2 separate regions of the Homo sapiens genome follow, and region 1 is linked to region 2. Evidence: promoter capture Hi-C in 16 types of primary human blood cells and fetal thymus (Javierre and others, 2016). All regions are on one chromosome and are shown on one strand. The core of a region is centred on a gene start or on the middle of the fragment in contact, and the rest is flanking DNA. Distances in the headings are between cores, read along the strand shown. Region 1 has its middle 4.1 kb from the start of OR1A2. Region 2 holds the start of OR1G1 (olfactory receptor family 1 subfamily G member 1).

Region 1 (2,855 bases), core at 173-2,672, 66 kb after region 2:
CTTGCATTTTCTAAATGTAATTTTGGGGCCAGTAAGCAAATTTCTCTACTAATAAGCCTGGCTGAGCATGTAAATACATTTTTTCTCCCCATTTATTCTCAATCTTTTCCCAGTGCCATGGACACACTTTTGATCCAATTATTATCAAATATGTGAAATCTTTACCTTAAATTATTAAATGTGTTTATTATAATAGTATGATTAAAACATCAGCAAAACAAAGAGAATAATATAACAAAAATTTATTATCTAGATTTAACAAATATAAGAATGTGGTCTTAGTTATTCTAAGTTTTTTAAATAAATAAATACTACAAATACTTTTGAGACTCCCTTTTTTTCCATCCAAAATCTAATTTTTTCCCCTTTACCTCCAGACATAACTGCAATTCTAGAGTTGGTAGTACGCTCCCAGTCAGGATTTATACTTTGACTACATACACATGTATTATTTTATCCATTAAAATTTACACATATTATATGATATAGTATATATCTTTCAGTAACTTCTTTCTTCAATCACATTATTTTTTATAAAATGAGGTCAGACATGCTGGCTCATACCTGTAGTCCTAACTCTTTGAGAGGCTGGGATGGGAGAGTCACTTGAGGCCAGGAGTTCAAGATCAGGTTGGGGAACATAGCGAGACCCTGTCTCTACAAAAATTTTAAAAATTATCTTATTAGTGTATAGGACTCCTACGTATTCTGAATATGAATTCCTTATCGATTATGTGTTCTGCAAATACCTCTTTCAGTTCATGGCTCATCTTTCCCCCTCCTTACGGTATGTTTTTTACCAAATGTTTTCCATTTTTAATGTAGTCAAATTTTACAATATTCTCTTTCATGTTTTATGTGGTTTAAGAAATAAATTATATCACAAATATATTTTCTCTATTTTCTTCTAAAATTTGGAAGCTTTGCTCTTACAATTAATCCCTTGGGAATTATTTTTCTGCACTTTTTAAATAAATGGGTATCCCATTGTTCCAGCACTCTTAGCTAAAGTCAGTCCATCCTTTCTCTGCCTACAGTATTATAAACCAACTCATGTCATACACCAATGTCTAATAAATTGCTTGGTGCAATGCTTGGTCTGTTCTGAGCTCTCCAGTCTGTTACATAGATTTAATTTTCAGTCCCTACACCAGAACTACTCAAATGCTTCAACTACCACAGTAATTCATTTTTTAAGGAATATGTACACCTTATTTTTTTGCATTTTTAACTCATTCCCTTTTTTTAATTGATATATAATAGTCGTATATATTTGGGGGGGTACATGTGATATTTTGATACCTGTATACCATGTGTAATGCTCTAATTGGGGTAACTGAGATATCCATTGTCTCAAACATTTGGCATTTCTTTGTGTTGGGAACATCATATTCTTCTCGTCTAGCTATTTTGAAATAATATATTATTGTTAACTCTAATTTCCCTACTGTACTATCAAATACTAGAGCTTATTTCTGAGAACATAGTAATTCATTTTAATACCTGAAAAAGTAATTTTTTTCTCATGCTTTTCCTCAAATGGACTTAGACTTCTTGGCTCTTTATTTGTCTACGTCAATTTTAGGATAGTTTGGTAAGTTCCATGTTTAAAATAAACCTGTGGTATGTTGATTAGATTGCACCAAATTTATAGATTAACTTGGGAAGAATTGACATTTTTACCACATTGAGTTTTTCTATCACCGGTGCTTTCATCTCCACGTTTTTAGATATTCTTTTTTTCTTCTTAAGTAAAGGTTTGTAATATTTGATAACAGTCTTGGCTTTTTTTGTTAGAATCATCCTAGATTCCCTAAAATTTCTGTTGCTTTCTGAATGGGGATCTTTTTCAAATTATATTTTCTAAGTTATTTTTACCTAAATACAAAAACAGCATTGATTATTTTAAATGATTTATATCTAACAAGCTTTCTGAAATCTCTTAGTGTATCTATTGATTCTCTTTGATTTTATTTCTAGACAACCACATTTTCTGTGAATTTTCTCTATTTCCTTTCCAATTCTCATGGGGCAAAAGTTTCTTACAATGATCCTTTCAAATATAGGACAGTATTTTAAGTATTTTAAGCAGACGACTCAAGTTAAGCTTCCTGCTTCTGCAGACCTGTGACTGCATCTCCAGTACCAAAAGGGAAATAATAGCACAGACTCCATCCCTGAGAGCCAAATTCCTGGTTCAAAACCCCAAAGGACCACCACAGCATCAGTTATAGCCTAAAACCCCTGCTCTGAGTTTTCTCTTGGGCTTAGCTACATTTACAAAAAAATTTTAATTTATCTAGAATATGTTTTAATAGAAACAGGACCTGTCAACATGAGTTTGCTTTGCCATGTTGCCCAGAGTTCTCCTCTGTCTGAAATCTTACACTTCCGTATCATAGGAGCTAATAATGTCTCTGAGCCCTCCAAAATTACTGAATCCTTTGAAACCTGAGGTATTATGATTCTGTGTGAAGATGAGAAAGGGCATTTCAAGACAGAAAGCCAAGTGACTTTAGGTGCAAAGATGAAAGAACACATCATGTTTGGGGATAAGATAATTAGACCTGCATACCCAGGGCTTAGCATGTACTTCACATGTATACTATATGAGACACCAGGAATTGATGATTGAATTAATTATAGATCGGATTAACTATTCAGCAAAGTGTTTTAAGAAAAAAAGTTAGGATATATTGGGCTACAGTAACAAATACATCAGAAAATGTTTAGGCTGGGCATAGTGGCTCATACCTGTAATCTCAGCACTTTGGGAGGTCGAGGCAGGTGGATCACAAGGTCAGGAGTTCGAGACCAGCCGGGCCAATATGGTGAAACCCTGTCTCCACTAAAAA
Region 2 (3,056 bases), core at 128-2,627:
CCGAGTGATCAGGATCACAGTGATGCTGGGGGAAGGTCGTCCTTCCCTGAATTTTATTCTTGGCCCTATACAACAGCCCAGCCAGATATTCCCTTATTTCAGTCATGAGCTGTCCCATGTTGTTTAAAAAGCATTAACTAATAACATTATTAAATCATCAATATTATTAACTATAGTAAATATAATAAGGCATGACATTATATTATACATCTGGATGGCTGTGGTTTTAGAACATAATTGTAAGAACTTCACCTGTGACATTGGCCTGATGATGGGTTATGATGCAGTCCTGTAGCTTAGACATGAATATTTCAGGTTCAGATCGTAGGTACTGGAACAGAGGTCTCTAGATTCTCTCCATCTTTCATTCTTCACTGCTTACTGTGGTGAACGCAGGTGCATGGAGACCCCCATATTGGATGTCAAGTCACTACCACTAAGGGGAATGAATTTTCCGAACCCAGATTAACTTTCTCAGGGAAGACTTTATTTCTTGGTTCCTCAAACTGTAGATAAAGGGATTCAACATTGGAGTTACCACTGTGTACATCACTGATGCAACTGTGTCCTTCTGGGCCGAGTGGGTTGAGGGAGAACTGAAATCAACACAAAAAGAAGTCCCAAAGAAGAGAGAGACCACGGAGAGATGAGAGCTGCAGGTGGAAAAGGCTTTCCGCTTCCCCTGAGCTGATGGGATCTTCAGGATGGTCGAGAAAACGTTCGTGTAAGAGATAATCAGGCAAAGCACACAAATGAGTCCTGTGAGACCCCCAGTGATGAAGATCACCAGCTCATTGGTGAAGGGGTCTGTGCAGGACAGACTCAGGAGGGGATTGATGTCACAGAAGAAGTGTGGGATCTCATGGTTTGCGCAGAAGGACAGGCTGTTCATCAGAAGTGTGTGTAGAAGGGAGTGGAGGGCATTCATGATCCAGGATGCAGACACGAGGAAGATGCAGAGCCCAGGGCTCATGATCAGAATGTAATGAAGTGGGTGGCATATGGCCACGTAGCAGTCATAGGCCATGACCGCCAAGAGGAATGCCTCCAGCATCACAAATAACATGAAAAAATACAACTGTAGTAGACACCCTGAGTAGGAGATGGCCTGACTCTGGATCTGTATGTTTGCCAGCATCTTAGGGACTGTGGTGGACACAAAGCAGGCATCTGCAAGGGAGAGGTTGGCTAGAAAGAAGTACATGGGGGTATGGAGTTGAGTGTCAGTAATGATGACTAGAATGATGAGGAGGTTGCCTGCCACCGTGACCAAGTACATGAACAGGAAGGACCCAAAGAGGGGCTTCTGCTCCTCCAGCTGCTCAGAGAACCCCAGGAGGAAACATTCTGAGATGCTGGTCAGATTTTTCCCCTCCATTTGTCTGTAGGAAGAAAGTTGGGTTAATTGGGTGACGTTGGTAAGCCCTGGATTGTGAACTCTGAAAATTATGCAATATTCCAGTGTTGATCTTCTAGTGTGAGGTTGGATCATAGGAAATCTCCACTATTTGACTCTTTGGGACCTGCAAAAATGGCCATTTCATAGGGTTCGACTAAATATTTGCAAATTCCTGTGCTTGGTGCTATGAGAAACCACAGATTTGTTTGTAATGCAATGAGAGGCTTTTAAATTTATTCCATAAGCATTAAGCCAATATGTGTATTTTGGGGCTGGGCTGGAGGGGCTTGCTGGCTTTGCTCTGGTAGTGTTCATGTAGAAACTATGACATTTATACAACCCAAGATTTTACAGGTCAAATGAGCCCATTGTACCAATAATTAAAAAGACAGCTCCTGGAAAGGGGTTTTGGAATTGGGAAAAGCATGGCTAACATGGAAATCATTATCACTGTTATCTACACAGCGGGTCTGGCCAGAAACCTGAGCGTCATTATTGACCCACGTTTCTCCCTCCCTGCCTACATCCAACCACCACCAAAGCCTGGCAATTTTACCTTCTCAATATGGCTACAATTTACTGACGTCTCTCTGTTTACTGGTCACCATCAGTCCCAGCTGCAGCTCATGTCATTCAGGGCACTGTGATTTCTCACTTGGATTTGGGCAGTTGATCTCCATGCCCCCAGGTATGCCCACCTGCCACCTGCTGTTCTAAATACACAGAGAATAGGCTTGCTAAAAATCAAATTCGACTCTTGTCTTTCTGCTTGAAAAATCCTTCATACACTCCTCATTACTCCCAGGATAAACTCTAAACTGAACACGGCTGAATGTCCTGGATCTTACCGTCATTTATTACAGACATCCCCAGTTCCTCATGAAACTCCCTCCTCCACTCCACACTTTATGCACTAATCATAGTTTCAATTATTTTAAAGGCCCAGATACTCCCTCACCTTTAGGCTTTCTCAGGCTGAAATAGTTTTTCCCATCCCATTTATCAGACGAGCTAAGCTTCAGGTCTCACCTTAGATGTCACCTCTTCTGGGAAGTCTTTCCCAACTCATCCTCTCACCAGAAACTCAGGTTCGTGACCTTCCTAATGCAGTGCCTCCCCCATCACAGCACGTGTCACCTTGGATTCTGAGTGTCTGTTTATATGAGTGTCCCTCATTCTGCTGTGAGCATCACTGGGAGTAGGCAGAGATGGTGCCTAATTGGCTCAGCTTTGAAATCTAGCATTAGCCTTGAGGCTGGTACAACACAGATGCTCAGTATGAATCTATCATGTAAATACATAAACCCCAGAGAATGGAAAGAGTGGGAAGAATGGAAAGGGGCTTTGCTATAGAGGTAATATCAGGCATAAGAATTAGCCTGAACCTTTATTATTATTGTTATGATTTTTGAGATGGAGTCTCACTCTGTCACCCAGGCTGGAGTGCAGTAGCACGAACTCAGCTCACTGCAGTCTCCACCTGCTGGGCTCAAGTGATTCCCTTGTCTCAGCCTCCTGAGTAGCTGGGATTACAGGCCACTGCTACCACACCTGGCTATTTTTTTTTTTTTTTTTTTTGTATTTTTAGTAGAGATGGGGTTTCATCACATTGGCCAGGCTGGACTTGAACTCCTGACCTCAGGTGACCCACCTGCCT

The links. The method cuts DNA at HindIII sites, captures the fragments that hold promoters and counts their contacts. A CHiCAGO score of 5 or more calls a contact.
Region 1: a contact is called between a fragment that was not itself captured here and the fragment with the promoter of OR1G1 in region 2, in 2 of 17 cell types (endothelial precursors and M2 macrophages). The highest score is 7.0, in endothelial precursors.

The regions. Positions count from the first base shown.
Region 1 is chr17:3,191,968-3,194,822 of GRCh38, forward strand. No RefSeq gene overlaps it. Among named protein-coding and RNA genes, the nearest start is that of OR1A2, 4.1 kb to the right of the region's middle. The HindIII fragment of the contact is 1,007 bases long and covers 920-1,926 here.
Region 2 is chr17:3,126,174-3,129,229 of GRCh38, forward strand. It overlaps OR1G1 (olfactory receptor family 1 subfamily G member 1), which reads right to left and starts at 1,378. Exons shown (of 1, transcript NM_003555.1): 1 at 437-1,378. The coding sequence starts at 1,378. The coding sequence ends at 437. The HindIII fragment of the contact is 3,090 bases long and covers 1-2,413 here.